4 separate regions of the Homo sapiens genome follow, and all the other regions are linked to region 2. Evidence: promoter capture Hi-C in 16 types of primary human blood cells and fetal thymus (Javierre and others, 2016). All regions are on one chromosome and are shown on one strand. Each heading gives the region's core, a stretch centred on a gene start or on the middle of the fragment in contact. The rest is flanking DNA. Distances are from core to core; before and after follow the strand shown.

Region 1 (4,115 bases), core at 1,506-4,005, 730 kb after region 2:
TCTCTCGGGCCCGAGCACCACACCTACACCAGATCCAAGCCACCCTCTCACCAGCCTTATTGGGAGCAGCTTCCTATCTGGTCTCTCTGCTTCTGCCTTTGCCCCACTTCAGTCTATTCTCAACCAAACAACTAGAAAAAACAAATTTTTTTAATCAAACTATGTCAAGCTTCTACTCAAAACCCTTTAGGGACTTTTAACCCTAGAGTAAAACCTAAAGTCCTTTCACTGACCTACAACAGGGCGCACGGCCCAGCCTCTGACTTCATCTCCGAATGCTCCTCCTTGTGCTCACTCTGCTCCACTCACTCTTACTGCCATCCCCAACACGACTTCCTGCCTTAGAACGAGGAATTGGCTGCTTCCTTGACCTGGAATGCTGTGACAATTAGTCACAAGTCTCAAGTTTCATTTCTTCACCTCCTTCAAGTCTTTACTCAAATGTCACCTTCTCAATGAAGCCTTCTCTGACCACTATAAAATTGATAGGTCTCCCATGCCCCTAGCACCTAGCCTTATTTCCTGCTTTATTTCGAATTAGCTATTATAATTATGTAACACCCATAATGTACTCACTTTTCTTGTTTGTATGACTCCTCCACTAGAATATAAATTCTGTCAAGGCAGGACTTTTAATCTGTTGTTTGTTTTTGTTTTTCACTGCTATATCCCCACTAACACCAGGGGAGTGGGGACGAGGGACAAGAAAACAACAATGCTTGGCACATACTAGATACACATAACTATTTGTGGAATGAATCTTTCAGTTTCAGATCATCCAAGAGTTGTCCACAAAATAGTCAGATATCCAGGACTGTCACCTGAGGGAGAAGTCTAGGTTAGAGATACATCCTTTGCTACCCTGAGTATATAGGTGGTACTAGAAATTACAGACGTGAAATGGGACTGCCCTGGGAGAAAGTACAAGAAGAGAAACAGGCTGTGGATAAAAACTTGTACAGGCCAGGCACAGTGGCTCACGCCTGTAATCCCAACACTTTGGGAGGCTGAGGAGGGCGGATCACCAGGTCAAGAGAACAAGACCATCCTGGCCAACATGGTGAAACCCCGCCTCTACTAAAAATACAGAAATTAGCTGGACGGGGTGGCACACGCCTGTAGTCCCAGCTACTCAGGAGGCTGAGGCAGGAGAACCACTTGAACCGGGGAGGCGGAGGTTGCAGTGAGCCAAGATCGCGCCACTGCACTCCAGCCTGGCCACAGAGCGAGACTCCATCTAAAAAAAAAAAAAAAGAAAGAAACTTGTACAAGAACCTATAGTGGCTATCAATTTCTTTATAAAGCCCACTGTGGCTGGTATAGCACTATTGTTTACCCACTTAATACCCACTCAATTCTGCCCCAACATCCTCCTAACAGAATTTGTTCTCCTCCTCCCTGGCCAAGTGTTTCTTGGAGGCCTAGAAAGACCGGTTACCTGGTCTAATCCAAATATGGTGGTCTTATATAGATCCTAAGCTTAAATCAATATGATGTAATTCTGGTCAGTTGGGAGTTTACGAGGGGGTTTTGCTCTTCCAATAAAGACAAAAGAGCAGATACTTCTATTACTACTTTGTTGAAGCCAACAACCCAGGTGACAGAGTGGAAAGGTAGGGGAAAAAACGTGTTGTTGATAATGTGCTGAGCCCCCAAGTTACCCTCCAGGTTAACCAACCTGGGGAGTGTAAAATAATGAATTCCTTATTATTTCAGCCACTTGGAATTGGTTTTTTGTTACTTGAGGGAAAAAATATTCTAATTAATATGCTAGTGTTTACTGTTTCCACGATGTGGTGTCAGCCTGTCTATATATATTTCTACAACTCATCTACACAAACCTTGCTTACAGTTTTCCAAATGCACCTTGGGCTTCTTGAGCCTTTGATCAAGCCATTCCGAATGCACTTCCCCCAAGAGGCTGGCCAGTTAAAATACTATCATTTATCAAACACAACTTAAATGTCACTTTCTCCTCTAGCCCTTTCAGAAATTACCTCAAAATTAAATGATCAGACCTAAAATATGTTGGGAGTGTTTTCACCTCTAGAATTTACCATACACCTTTATGCTAGTGTTACTTATAGAATGCCTACATCTGCTTTAGGTCATACACTTCAAAGCACAGAACGGTCCAGATCTTAATATAAAGGCTTGCCATTTACCAGGCACAGCTCTAAGTATTAACGGTTTTAATCCTCAAGACAAAACCTAAAGAGATAAATTCTTCTATTGCCACTTTGTGGATTAGGAAAATGAAGCACAAAAACATTTAACTTGCCTGAGGTTTCGGAGCTAGTACATTCTAGAACCTGGATTCAAATCAAGACAGCAATTAGCTGAATGAAGGTGTAACTGCAAATGCAAATAACTGATCACAAGGGATACACATTCACTCATACAAGATAGAAGATTTTTAACGTTGCTGGTACTAAAACCAAAGCGTCTGCGTTTTTAAGCGCAGCCCCACCCCGCAATACTAGAGACATTCTTTAGAGCTGGAAGCCTGATAGATTAAGGGGAACTATGCCTTTGTATTTTTTAAGACTCAATAAATTGCTCACTTCTTTCCCAAAATGAGGTGTCTGTGGGGGAGGCCCCTGTCGCTCCGTGTGCCAAGGGTCCTCCGATTGCTAGCACACAGCGGTGAGCAGAGAAGGTAGGTGAGGAACTGCACTGACTCAGCTGCAGAGGGCGGCGGCAGCCCGCCCCTGGGGCGGGAGAAGGGCAGGAGCCGGGAGACACCAGGAAGCTCTTCCCCGCCCGGGCACGTAACAGAGCTGGGAGCCTGGCTGCCAGGGGCGTGTTATCGCGGGGGCAGCCTGGGAGCGCTGCTGCGCCGCGGCAGGAGAAACAGCCGAGGACACCCTGGAAGAGCAGGAGCACGTGGGCCTGCGAGAATGGCGCCAACACCAGCCCTGCAAAGCCACATTCCAAAGCCGGGCCAAGGACAGCCACCGTTGCCCCGCAGGCCTCAAGGATGACGGTCAAGCCAGCCAAGGCCGCCTCCCTAGCCAGGAACCTCGCAAAGCGCAGGCGCACCTACCTGGGTGGCGCGGCTGGGCGGAGTCAAGAGCCGGAAGTCCCTTGTGCCGCAGTCCTTCCCGGGAAACCTGGGGACCGGAACTGCCCGGAGTTCCCGCCCCCAGACAGAACCCTGGGTTGCTGGGCAACCGATGCGGCCCCCGCAGCTGGTCTCTGTGGTGCTGGGAGCGAGCCCAGTATAGCTCCCACCTCCTGCGCTGGTAACCTCCCGTCCCGCCCGCCTCCCTTGTTGTCGCCTCTCCTCGCGTCGCGGAATCCTTGCCCTTGGCACTACTTACATCTCTCCGGGTCCCACAACACCTTAGCGCCCACCTGCTTCAAAGCCAAGCTCCACCGAAAGCGAGGCAGTCAGCCCCCGGACATGGCCTCAGCGCTGACTGATCGCACCTCTCGGGCCCCGAGCACCTACACCTACACCAGCCGGCCCCGAGCACTGCCCTGCCAGCGCAGCCGTTACCGGGACAGCCTGACGCAGCCGTGAGTGACCAAGCCAGCCCCTGTGTGGTCCATACTTGCACCCCATCCCCAGGCCGGGGTCTGGCCCCTTCGCCCTGGCAAAAAAGCTGCTTATGCTGTCTTCCCTTGGCTGCACTCTGCCGAAATAAAAGTTCTGCCCTAAGGAATCTCCCGTGGTGTGGAGGAGTGAAGCAGGAAGGGGCATGGGTTGGGCATCAGTTAACTTTTAGTGATATGAGTTGCTGCCGTGGTCCTTAACATGTACACGAATTGGCTCATTTCACAAAGTTTGAATTGTACCAGTGTGTATTGAGGGCCAACTACGTGCTGAGCACCTTACGGGGGGCATTCAAATACGTTTTCTTAGTTAATCCACAGTGCTGTGAAGTTGATTTTATAACTCCATTATGCAGATGAGGAGACCGCGGTGCAAAGATATCCAACAGTAGCATATCCAAAATGGGAGCCGAGTAAATCTCTTCGGCAGGCTTTGAGCAGGAGTAAGATTATTCTTCCATGCAGGACCACAGATTGGTTTTTTGTGGTGGTGGTGGTGGTGGTGGTGGTGGTTGCTGTTGTTGTTTTGAGACGGAGTTTCGCTCTTGTCGCCCAGG
Region 2 (3,634 bases), core at 404-2,903:
ATAAGAGACCTTGAACGCTTTAATGTACTGTACAAATTGTGACAATGCTCATCTCCACATCACAGGGCTTTTTACACATTGTGTTTCATCTCTACCAGCTTATTTCTGACAAACAATACACAAAAATATTTTCAGCAAACATGACTCAACGTTGAATTGGAAAAGCTAGACATAAAAGAGCCATGTAAAAATAAGCAGTGCCTGGGACACACTATTATTATTACTTTTATCCTTTAGGAGTTAGCAATTCTGGTAGCTTGTCCAAATTCTGCCAATGAAAAAGTACTAAAAATACTGAACTTTTAAACCATGTGTCTGCTTAAGATACCTTAACATATAAAAGCACTGTAAGAAACACACCTACCCAAACCCTTAAAATGTAACCTCAACCTTATCACAAGCCAGCTTTGCGGACTGCAATCTTTCCCCGACTTGGCTAATCAGATGCTACTTGAATGAATTAAAATGTATCCATCTTGAAAAGATTTTTCGCTCATAGTTTTAAATTACGGTTTTAAATGTCCACAACATGTTTATCTATCGTAGAAAACTTAATGGTCAAAATTTTAAAATCCAAAAAACGAGAACTTGCGATGGATCTATGACGTCCACTTATCTTCCGAAGCAATGGAATTAACTAAAACTAGATAAAATAGGCACAAATACAACTTCCAATTGTAACATACTCATAGAAGTATTTCCCTACCAGACTAAATAATAGTTTTTTTGTTTTGTTTTGTTTTTTTTACATAATCACAGTTATGCTAGTCCTTGATAATGTTAAGCTAATCCTTTGGGATCAAACAACCAAGTGACTTTCTTATCAAAACAAGAACTCGGGCTTTTCCATTACGTGTACACAGACTTATGAAAAACGGTGAAAAAAAAATCTAGTAACTGTCTCACAGGGATCCAAGGTAAGACTTGGATTTCACAAAAATCTGCAATAATTCAGTTTCTTTCCTCAGAATGCTTATACTCATTTAAAAATGGAAGTCTACAAGAGAACGTAGTAACATCCTACTGCGTGACATGAAATGTAGGGAACGAATGTTTCTTTTTTTCCTTGCTGAACTCGTTAGTGCCGCCAGGTCCTCAGGAGAGGCCCAAGGGAGGTGAAGGGGGCGACCCCGAGGCGAGGAAAAAACGAGCGCCGCCGCTCAGCCCGGGGAGGGCATCCTCCGGCCTCCGTGAGTGGCCGGTCTCTCCGGCCGCCAGAGCACCCCTCTCAACCCGGGCCTTGGGGACGGAGGACAGAGATAAAATGGCCTCGAAGCGGCGGAAGTGTTCCCCGCAGGCGGGAAGGTAGAGCGGCTCACGAGAGACCGGTGCCGCACCAGGCCCGTGTGGCCTTTCGGGCCCTGCCCGCCCCTTACCCGCCGGGGGCGGCTGCGCATCAGCCCTCAGGCCCCGGAGGTCCCCCGCGTCCGCTCCCGCCAGCCGGCCCGCGCCTACCTCTCCAGGCAGAAGCCGCGCCGGCGCCACCGGTCGCATAGGCCGAGGCCGCGCTGCTTGCCCTGCCGCCCGGGCCCCCCGGGCCACCGCGCAGCCGGACAGCTCTGCCGCCGGCCCCGCCGCGCTCCTAGTCCCGCCGCAACCCCTGCGCTCCCCTTTATTTGTGGGTCTCGCTGCCACAAAATGGCGCTGAGGGAGGAAACCAGGCCCCGCCGCCCGGCCCCGCCCCGCCGCACGGCTCCGCTCCGCCCTGCCCCGCCCCACAGCCGGTCCGAACGCGCCGCAGGCCAGCGCCACTGCCTCCCGCCTCCCGCCTCCCGCCTCCCGCCAGCCTCCCCGCTCCGCCATGTTCGCCTTCTGGCCCACTCACAGGAGAGTCGCCTTTCAGGCGTGGCCGCAGTCACTCGCCCGCCGCCGAACCCCGCCAGGAGAGGAAAGGTGAAGGGAGGGAGGCCGTCGGCCTAGCCCGATCGGGGCCTCGAGGCACAATGGAGCAGCTGCTCCCCGGTAACACTCCCCGTCCTTTCCCAGGAGCCTGGCGCGAGCTCCGCGGGCCCCGGAGCTCAGCAAGCTCAGTAAGGGAAGCGGCCGAGGGGAGGGGCGGGCCAGCGAGGTCGGAGGTCAGCCCCAGGGCATCACGGGAAGGGAAGGTGGAAGTACTCGCCGGGGCCACCTGCGGCTGCGGGGCTGCCTCGTGCGGAGGGATCTGGGCGAAGGCGGCGCGTGATTGGCCGCTCTGTGTTCGTGACGCTCATCCGTGATGCTTCCGCGTGTCGGAGGACCAGGTGCCACCTCAAGAGAGAGGCCGTGGGCGGCGAGCCGCGGGCGTTTACTCTTAGCAGAAGCTCACCTGTAAGTTTTGAGAACTTAGAAACCGATGCCTTCCCTCTCATCAGTCGTGAGGCGCAGTCTCCTGGCCGCTGGGTTCGTTCCTCCTTGACATCTCTGGAGACGCATCGAGGAGCTATTGTTCTCTGGCGTCGGAGGTTGCGCTGTGTCCGCGGCGTTGAGGGCCCCTTGCTAACTGGAACACGGGGAAGGCGGCCCTGTGAGGTTTAGTGAACTCAATCAAAGAGGTCCTGCAAGTGGAGTAGACTCCCTGAAGTAAGACTGCCATCTGGACCGCCGAGTAATGGCGGTGTTACCTGGAGAACGTGAAACAGTCTCTAAACACTTACTAGAAGAGCACGTAATTCTTTTGATTGGTCTGTCCTTAGCCGGCTTTATCAAACCTGTTCATCCCCAAAGGAGTGTCTTGTAGTAAGGTGATTTATTAGGATAAGATTAAAGTACATTCCAGATGGTCGTAGTATATTTCCAGTGAATCAGATCGGTCTGGAGAAAATCTTTGCAACTCGTATCACAAGAGCTCTCAAAAATTGAAAACAAAAAGTGCAAAAGCCAAAGGAGAAAATGGGGAAGGACATGAACAGATGATTCTCAGAAAAAATACCGTAATGGTCTTTAAACATAGAAAGTCGCTCCACCTCACTTACAATGGAAATACACGTTGAAATTACCTTTCCTGGTGGGAGTGGAAAAATGGTTCAAGTTCCACGGAGTACAAAATTACTTGTGTTTATTCTTATACCTTGCAGTTATACTTCTAACCCTAACCTTATTCTGAAGGTGCAGCTCCACACATGGAAACAATAGGTATACAAGGTTATTGCAGTGCTATTTGTCATAGCAAAAGTTAGGGATAACCCAAATATCCGTTAATAGGGAACTGATTGGGAATGGTGCATCCATACAGTAGAACACAATGCAACCATTAAAAAGATTCAGGAAATAATCGTGTGTTGCTTTGGAATGAGTCTCAGGTTGTATTAAGTATTCACTTAAATATTTAAGTGTAGTAAGTATTCACTGTATTCAAAAGCAAAAATAAGCATATATGCTTTTATGTATTTACTTAAATACATAAAAATATATATTTATATTTAATATGAATATTTATGTGTATATGCTTATTTTCGGGGAGGAATTGGAAGGATATCCTGGAAACTTAACATTTTTAGTTGCCTATAAAGAGTGGGGGGTGGAGACAAGATTTCTCTGTCTTTGAACTTTTAGTTTTACATAGCCAAAAAAGTAAATAAAAAAGGAAACAAAGTAAATCCTAAGGTTGAAAGCAAATTGAAACAAATGAACTTAACTGTTAACTAATATAACTAAG
Region 3 (4,131 bases), core at 1,452-3,951, 560 kb after region 2:
GCACCTCTAGAAGGTAAAAAGAGCATGGAAATAGATTCTCCCTTAAAGTTTCAATGCAGGCCTTGATTTTTGCCCAGTACCGCACATTTCAGACTTCTGATCTCTATAACTATAATAAAGATCATAAATTTGTATTGTTTCAAGTCATTAAGTGTGTGGCAATTTGTTATAGCAATAGGAAATGAATACACTCTCCTTCCCCTCCTGTTTTCAGGGAACGGGCCTTTAGAACTTAAGTATGATGTGAATGGTCTTGGTAGAGTATATTCATCATGCTCTGGAACTGTCTGGTGATAACTTTCCAGGGGTGCAAATTGTCACTCTGCAATCCTATTACAACCTCTGATTCCACAGGAATAAATTTCATGATCAGTTGATGAACAAAACAGCTCTTCCATCTGCCATTGGCGGGTGCCAGTGCACAAAAAAGGAGAGAGGGTCTCACCACGTTCTCTCAAAGAGGACTGAAGTAACAGGGAAACCCCATAAAGCCACATGCAGGTTGAGCCACAGGCGAGCTTCTAAAGGCTTCCAGAGATGGAAGGAGCCTCCTTCAATTGACCTATTCTGAAGCGCGGAGACTAGCCCAAGGCCCCCAGAGGTGCAGGACAGCACTGCCACTCACACCCAGGCATCCTGATTTTTAACCTACTTCCCTCCGTATATACCAGTGTGTCTCAAACATTTTGGTGTCTGAATTATCTTCTATTCTTAAATTTACGAGGATGCCAAGGAGGTTATGTTTCTGTGAGTTTTATCTATCCTTATTGACTTTACTGGGAATTAAAACGAAAATATGTACTTATTTATTTTAAAAAACAATAATAAACCATTACATGTTGACATACAAATATATTTATATGAAAAGTAACTGTTTCCCAAAACAAAGAGAAATGAGTGAGAAGAGCAGCTTTGTTTCTACATTTTGGCAAATCTTTTTAATAGAATATCTCCGATCTGCTTATGCATTCAATCTATTGCAATATGTCGTTTTGCTTGGAGAAAACCCAGCCTCACACAGATGTGTAGCTGGACAACTATTTCAATAGCCTTTTTGGATAATTTTGAAAAATCTTTGATATTACACCAAAATTCATCAAGTAGCCAATTCTTAGAATCTGAAATCATATGAAGAATTTTTCATATTTTGTTACATTAAAAATCCATTGGGCTATCATGCACTTTGAACAGACCTTTTACCCATGCAAGATTGTTGTAAGGCTATACACTGGTCATTTGGATCTATTGGTTTATTTGGTTATGCAGATCATCCAAATGTTGACACATTTTATGAGATGACATTTACAAATCACATTCATTTATATCACCATTGATCTCACTAGAAAAAAATTTAAATATTGGGAAACTTTCAAGCTTACAGTGGTGGAAACAACTTGGCAAAATTCTGATTTTCACTTGAAAGCTGAAATGTTATCATTGGCAAGCAATAATAGCAGTTATTTTACTAGAAGTAGCAAGTTCCCTTTGTTCATTTTTGAGAAAACATCGGCCAAATACCCAAGTCAGAATAGCTCTAGTTTGTCTGTTGTCATTCTTTGTGGTAAATACCACATTCCATTTTAAAAAACCAGCTAGCTTAATGCATAACACAAACAATCACACCAGTGCTTCCCCCTGGGGTTGCCACTGAACTTGGTCATCAGCAGTAGTAACTTATGTGTCCTTCCCATTTATTTACACTATTAAAAAGACATACACTCAAAGATACAAAGATTTGGTAAAATTAATAATTTTACTGTGGCATCAAGAACATTCTTAATGAAACTGGCAAATTTTTTTTAACTGCAAAGTCCCCCCAAAATTCAAAGACTACTAGTGCATGGTGATGTCCCTGCCTTGATTCTCAGTAAGACACCCGCAGTTTACCCATCAAGCTTTTGCACCCTCAGTGCAAATGTCAACTGTGAAAAAGGAAAATAGCATCTTAGTAATCTTAGTATTACTTTGAAAATAGTTTTGACATGGAAAATTCCCTAAAAGCTTCTTTAAAGAAGAAAATAAAAATCATCCCTAACCATCCTAAGATACCCACTGCAAATATGTGCATGTGTGAGTACATCCACATGTGTTTAGAAAAATGTATCATACCAGACTGGCAAGGCCATCATAATTTTAATGTTTGCATAGTATCCTATTGTAGGGATGAATATGAGTGGAGGAGGGGACACTGCTTGCTTATTTTGTTTTATGTTTAATTGACCCTACACTGAAGGGCTTATCCAGATCTTCAGTGTGTCCTGCTTTAAGCAAAGTCCCTCGGAGCCACTATTATGTGGCCGTGGGTAATTTCCTTACAGAGATTCTGGCCCCAAAAGGGTGGTGAAGGGGAGAGCTTGACACAAGCAGCTCGCTTGGTCCATGCATTAGTTCAACCAGAGAGAGGGAGCAGTCTATCCATGACGTTGCTGTCAAAGGGAGCCCATGAAAGAAGTTATGTACCCCATAATTTCATCCACAGCATGGGGAGCTATCTACAGGTTGCTATGTCTGTTTCTATCCTTCTATTACTTAATTTAAATTTAGTAGATTTCATTCTGAAATGTGCCTGTCCTCCTTTGTCCACCTCTAGTCTGGTCATCATTTGACTGTAGATCCCACGTCAACACAGTAGAGAGAAGGGCTGGGAAGCTGTCCAGCCCCAGCATTCCTCAGCACAGTGATTCACAGAGCAGAAGGCGAAAAAGCAAGAGTGCAGATCGCGGTGGGATTCCAGGAGCTCTCACAAACAACCCCGCTCGGACCCACTCACATGCAACCCACGGGCAGGTGGCAGAGGAATCGGAAAAGCAGAAGGCTGGAATCGCCACAAAGCCAGGGCAGCACTGGTTCCAGTTTCAGATCATTTTCAGAAACAAAAACTCTTCCAGCACTCTGAAAATTTTCACTTAGAAAAACAAAAGCCAGGAGTTGTAGGTGGGGAAGTTGGAAGACTTTATTTAGTTTTATTCCTCTCAAGTACTGTGCAAAGTATTCAGTGAATACTTTCCTAGAGTTCACTAATGGGAAGAAAAAGACCCTACGGCAGGCACTGCCTTTTATGAGAAAGTGGCATTGGCATCAGAATACCTCGCATAAACCTGAGCCAAGCATTGGGATGATGTATCTACCAAAAAGTCACAAAGTAATGTGATCCCCAACTTTTCTTCCTTTACCCCTGAAGTAAGAGAACAATATATACACTAAATAGCATCATAAAACTGGTACCCTCGTTGGAATAGTATCTGACGATCATTGTCTGCTTCTTGGATTTCTACAAACCAATAACCTAAAAGCCAGTTTCAAGTGTAAAAATGCCTGCAAAGGAGGTGGTAACAAGGGCCGCCAAAGGCTTAGGAATGAAAACCTCGCCACAAACTTGTCTCTCTCTGCAGGAAGCTTGCAAGAAATCTGACAGGAGCGCGCTAGCATTTTCTGAAAAGCATTGCTCTCAAAGGAAGCATCCATCCTGGCTGCAGCCTCAGCCATTGGGGAAGGGCGAGTTTCTCTGGAATCAGCTTTCTCATTTCCCTCTCCCTCCTCTCAAGACAAACATTTTCTCCCAGCTTGAACGTTCCCCCCGGGCGCGCGGGCCTCCTGCCGCCTGGAGCCGAGCTGGCACTGGAGCGCTTCTCCTCTGGAGCGCAGAGGCACCCGACGCCCTGCGGCAGCTCGCAGCCTTTCCCCCACGACCTTCTAGAACAGCCCTGCTCTGCCTCCCTCCGGTCTCCCGAGTGCGCCCGTCATCCTGCCTCGCGAGAGGTGAACGCGGAGAAAGTAGGATGACCACCTACGCTCCCGAGAAATTCTGGGCAAAGAAAGGCATTACCCCAGTCCGCACGCTGAAAGTCGCCTTTCTTTTCCTTTTTTCCCCGCTGTGCCTGAATCTCCCGGGACACTTAGACGGCTGGAGCCTCCCGACTCCAAGGCGGGCGACGGCAAAGTTAAACGCCAGCGCGCTGCGGTCCCCGGGCACCGAGGCGTCCCCGCTCCCGCCACCCACACAGGGCGCCAAGTGCCCCGACCCGCGAGTGACGAGGACGCACAGGCTAGTGACACGACCCGTAGCCAGCACTGAGCGGGACGACGGGGCCCGAGCGCAGGAGGGTGCGCGGGGAGCTGAGGAGCGCCGGG
Region 4 (4,139 bases), core at 1,196-3,695, 800 kb before region 2:
ACAGAGTGAGACTGCCATCTCTTAACCCACTTCTTATTTAGAAAAAGAAAATATGTAGCTTGCTGCCTGCATAGTATTCTTGGGGCAAATGGGAAATGAGTTAAAAAAAAAAAAAAGAACTCTTACAACTCAACAATAAAAAGAAAAACAAGAACGTGAATAGACATTTTTTCCAAAAAAGATATACAAATAGGCAATAAGTACATGAAATGATGGTCAACATCATTAGTCATTAAGAAAATGCCAATAAAATCACAATGAAATAAGACTTCATATCCATTAAAATGTCTATAATTTAAAAAATGGAAAATAACAAGCATTTGTGAGGATGTGGAGAAATTAGAATCCTGTATATTGCTGGTGGGAATGTACAGGGAAAATGGTTTGGCCACTGTGGAAAACAATTTGACAGTTCCTTAAAATGCTAAACATAGAATTACCATGTGATCTAACAATTTTACTCTTAGGTGTATATATACAAGAATTGAAAACAAGTGCCCAAACAGATACCTTGCATGAGAATGTTCATAGCAGCACTGTTACAACAGCCACACCCAAATGTCAATCAATAGATGAGGGGATAAACAAATTGTGGTTTATACAGCTACAAAAAGGAATGAAGTACTGGTATCCGCTACATGGCTGAAACTTGAAAGCAAGGGCTGGGATGGGGTCATGGAAAGTACCAGCTTATTGGGTACTGCATTGTGCTTTGGGGTCATGAAAATGTTTTGGAACTGGATGGAGGTGGTGGTTGCCAATGTGAACATACTAAATACAACGCATTGTTCACTATAAGACTGCTACTTTTCTTATGAGAATTTCACTTCAATTAAAAAATACCTTCCATGTATCCTTTCTAAGGATGATACTAGAATATTTGCTTTGGCAAAATGAGGAAGTAACTTTTTTTAAAAAGGAAGATGTGGGATCCATGAAACGGGATCAAATATCAGAGAGGAAAGGGGGTCTTCTGGATGACAGTCCATGGAGATCCCACAACTGCACAGCAGGCCGGCTGTGCACCCAGGCCACACCAGAGCAGAGCCGGTGGTTCCCGAGGAGCTCTCTGGAAGAAAAACGCTAGATGGCCTGATTGGTTTGGGGGCATATTGAAAAGGTATATAACTGAGAATTTGGAGTGGAATTAGGAAACAGACATAAAAGCTTACAGAAAAGAAAATAATGAATTCTAGGGAGAAATATAAAAGGATACTACAGGCCTCAGTTACATAAACACTGAATATTTACTTAACCAAAATTACAATATAATTACATAATTATTTTAGGTACATATGGCAAAAGGATGTGTGGGTGTATGTAGTATGTACGGTGTGTGAAGTGTATGTGTGTGGTATGTGGACGGTATGTGTATGCTGTGTATGCCAATAAAATCACAATGAAATAAGACTTCATATCCATTAAAATGTCTATAATTTAAATGTCTATAATTTTAAAAATGGAAAACACTTCTCATATGGCAGGAGCAGGAGCAAGGGTGGGGGAGGTACCACACACACTTAAACAACCAGATCTCCTGAGAACTCACTATCAGGAGAACAGCACCTGGAGAAGGTGCTAAACCATTCATGAGTTACTGCCCTATGAGCCAATCACCTCCCATCAGACCCCGCCTCCACACTAAGGATTACAATTTGACTTGAAATTTGGGCATGAACACAGATCGAAACCATATCAATAGGTAATGACTAAAACTGAAAAAAGAAGTACCACAGTCAGAAAGTTATTTAGAGAGCTGAAGGTAAATGCCAATAGGATCAGTTGAAAGAATTGGAGGTGGCCGGGTGCGGTGGCTCAGGCCTGTAATCCCAGCACTTTGGGAGGCGGAGGTGGGTGGATCGCCCTGAGGTCAGGAGTTTGAGACCAGCCTGGCCAACATGGTGAAACCCAGTCTCTACTAAAAATACAAAAATTAGCCAGGCCTGGTGGTGGACGCCGTAGTCCCAGCTACTCAAGAGGCTGAGGCAGGAGAATCGCTTGAACCAGGGAGGTGAAGGTTGCAGTGAACCGAGATCGTGCCACTGCACTCCAGCCTGGGTGACAGAGCAAAACTCCATCTCAAAAATAAATGAAATAAAGAATTGGAAGTGTTTGCCTCTGGAGAGAAGGAAACGCAGTAATTCTGTAAAAACAGAACTTTTTACTTTTTTTCTTTTTTTTTTTTTTTTTGAGACAGAGTCTCCTTCTGTCACCCAGGCTGGAGTGCAGTGGTGCAGTCTTGGCTCACCGCAACCTCTGCCTCTTGGGTTCAAGCAATTCCCGTGCCTCAGCCTCCCAAGTAGCTAGGATTACAGATATGGGCTGCTATATCCAGCTAATTTTTTTTTATTTTTATTAGAGATGAAGTTTCACCATGTTGGCCAATCTGGTCTCAAGCTCCTGGACTCATGATCCTCCTGCCTCGGCCTTCCAAATTGCTATGATTACAGGTGTGAGCCACCATGCCTGGACAGAACTTTTTGACTCTTTAAACTATGTGCATATATAAAGCTGATTTAAAAAAAACCAAGTAAAATAATTTTAAAATGTTCCAAAACAGATTGGATGGGTACACACTTCATCATGAGTGGTTGAGGGAGACTGGGTTAGAGATGAGGAAATTCCAGGGACTGGGGAAAAGTTAAAATGACAAACTGTTCACAATTGTTAACTGCAGGTTGTGGGAAAGTTGGTAAGTTGCTACAGTGTTTGTTCCCTCTGTAGGTTTGCATATATTTAACATTTCTTAAATTAGCATAATAATGAACTGTGTAATCAGCTGTAGAGTTGAGGGTGTGGAGCTGGCACAGGACAGCTGAGCTACTGGTTTAAAATAAATGACATTTAAAAAAATGGCTATTTGTAGAATTAACAGATATAAGACACCCTGATCAAGGGATGATAAGAAAGGACTCCAGGGCTCTGTCTCAGCTGTCTTGGCAACACCTGGAAGACATGGGCCTCTGCAAGGTCTCATACTTTCAGGAGGTGTTGATGAAGGATATGGACAGATCTGAAGCTCTGGGCACTGCATGGTCTGAGAAGAGAAGCTCCGGAAACGCGGGAGCTGAGTGCAGATGCAGAAGGGCTGTCATCCAGCAGAGGGGTAGGTGACAACTGGCCTAGCGAGTGACCCTTATCATGGCTACATTTGTTGATCACTTTCTTTGTATGAGGCACTGCTGTGATTGCATTAAATTTCCACTTACCTAAATCCAACGTTGTGCACTTGTGAATTTCTACTCTTACAAAAAACACAACGGCAACAACCTCAAACCAGTAATCTAGTCAAAAAAGCAATTCCCAAGGCATGACATTCAGATTCATCAGCACTCACAGAGACTACAGTGATTGCTGATAACGCCAACTTAATACCTGGCCAACAGCATGGATCCTGACCTCCACTTTTCTTGTGTGTTTACAGAACCACAAAAAGGTGCAGTGTTTTCATTTTTGTTGCATGTTTCACAGGTCTATATAACCCACTTTTAAAGTAAAAAAGGGTCTTAGTGATGAACAATAAAAGTATAAATTCAATACACCATATACCTTTGTCATATGACTATATATAGACTTTTACATACCCTTGCATATGGATCATATGGATCAAATTAGTAGATGAAATAGAATTTTTAAAAAATGAAATATTTTCTGGTTATCAAGCATATCAGCTACCTTTAAAATATTAATTTTACTGTACTTATATTAATTATTGAAGCTTAAACTTCAGAATAGTGGAGGATAAAAGTAAAATATAGCAAAAAGATTTCTCCTTTATTACTTCTTTAAATCAGAGAAAAGACATTTAAAGAGAAAATAGGAGTATCTTCCCCACTCCACATAACTTATGAAGTAAGCAGCTAATTGATCATATCATAAAGAGGCACCAGATAAAATCTGTGTGGCTCAAAATATTAGGAGCACTGCTTCTGTGAAATCAGTTAAAGTAAACGCCCATATTGGTCATGCATTGATACACATGCTTATTTTCCTAAGTGAATTCTCCACAATTCTGAAAATCAGTGAAAAGATCATCTCATGTTAGTTCCACACAAAACCAAGCAGTGCATGTGACTGTCCATGTTTCCAGGCATACACATCCCGTTTCACCAGGATCAAAGTGCCCAATGGGAAGCAAC

Evidence for each region. Contacts are between HindIII fragments. The CHiCAGO score rates a contact against its expected background, and 5 or more counts as called.
Region 1: the fragment with the promoter of RSPH3 here is called in contact with the fragment with the promoter of WTAP in region 2 in 1 of 17 cell types (neutrophils); the score reaches 5.5 in neutrophils.
Region 3: a fragment that was not itself captured here is called in contact with the fragment with the promoter of WTAP in region 2 in 1 of 17 cell types (total B cells); the score reaches 5.1 in total B cells.
Region 4: a fragment that was not itself captured here is called in contact with the fragment with the promoter of WTAP in region 2 in 1 of 17 cell types (total CD8 T cells); the score reaches 5.8 in total CD8 T cells.

Annotation. Positions count from the first base shown.
Region 1 is chr6:158,998,842-159,002,956 of GRCh38, reverse strand. It overlaps RSPH3 (radial spoke head 3), which reads left to right and starts at 2,755. Exons shown (of 8, transcript NM_031924.8): 1 at 2,755-3,522. The coding sequence starts at 3,407. It overlaps TAGAP-AS1 (TAGAP antisense RNA 1), which reads right to left and starts at 3,084. Exons shown (of 5, transcript NR_183546.1): 1 at 2,565-3,084. RefSeq lists enhancers at 2,447-2,496, 2,069-3,040, 2,907-3,066, 3,237-3,306, 3,337-3,386 and 2 more. The HindIII fragment of the contact is 7,152 bases long and covers 1,482-4,115 here.
Region 2 is chr6:159,725,525-159,729,158 of GRCh38, reverse strand. It overlaps WTAP (WT1 associated protein), which reads right to left and starts at 1,653. Exons shown (of 8, transcript NM_001270531.2): 1 at 1,456-1,653. It also overlaps a transcript of SOD2 not described here. RefSeq lists a silencer at 1,235-1,784 and enhancers at 1,247-1,844, 1,795-1,924, 2,275-2,364, 1,845-2,442. The HindIII fragment of the contact is 6,285 bases long and covers 1-3,634 here.
Region 3 is chr6:159,169,726-159,173,856 of GRCh38, reverse strand. The region is part of intron 1 of FNDC1 (fibronectin type III domain containing 1); the gene reads right to left. It overlaps FNDC1-AS1 (FNDC1 antisense RNA 1), which reads left to right and starts at 3,850. Exons shown (of 4, transcript NR_121668.1): 1 at 3,850-4,045. RefSeq lists an enhancer at 3,103-3,602. The HindIII fragment of the contact is 1,395 bases long and covers 2,004-3,398 here.
Region 4 is chr6:160,520,938-160,525,076 of GRCh38, reverse strand. The region is part of intron 1 of LOC124901454 (a long non-coding RNA gene); the gene reads right to left. Among named protein-coding and RNA genes, the nearest start is that of LPA, 140 kb to the left of the region's middle. The HindIII fragment of the contact is 2,551 bases long and covers 1,170-3,720 here.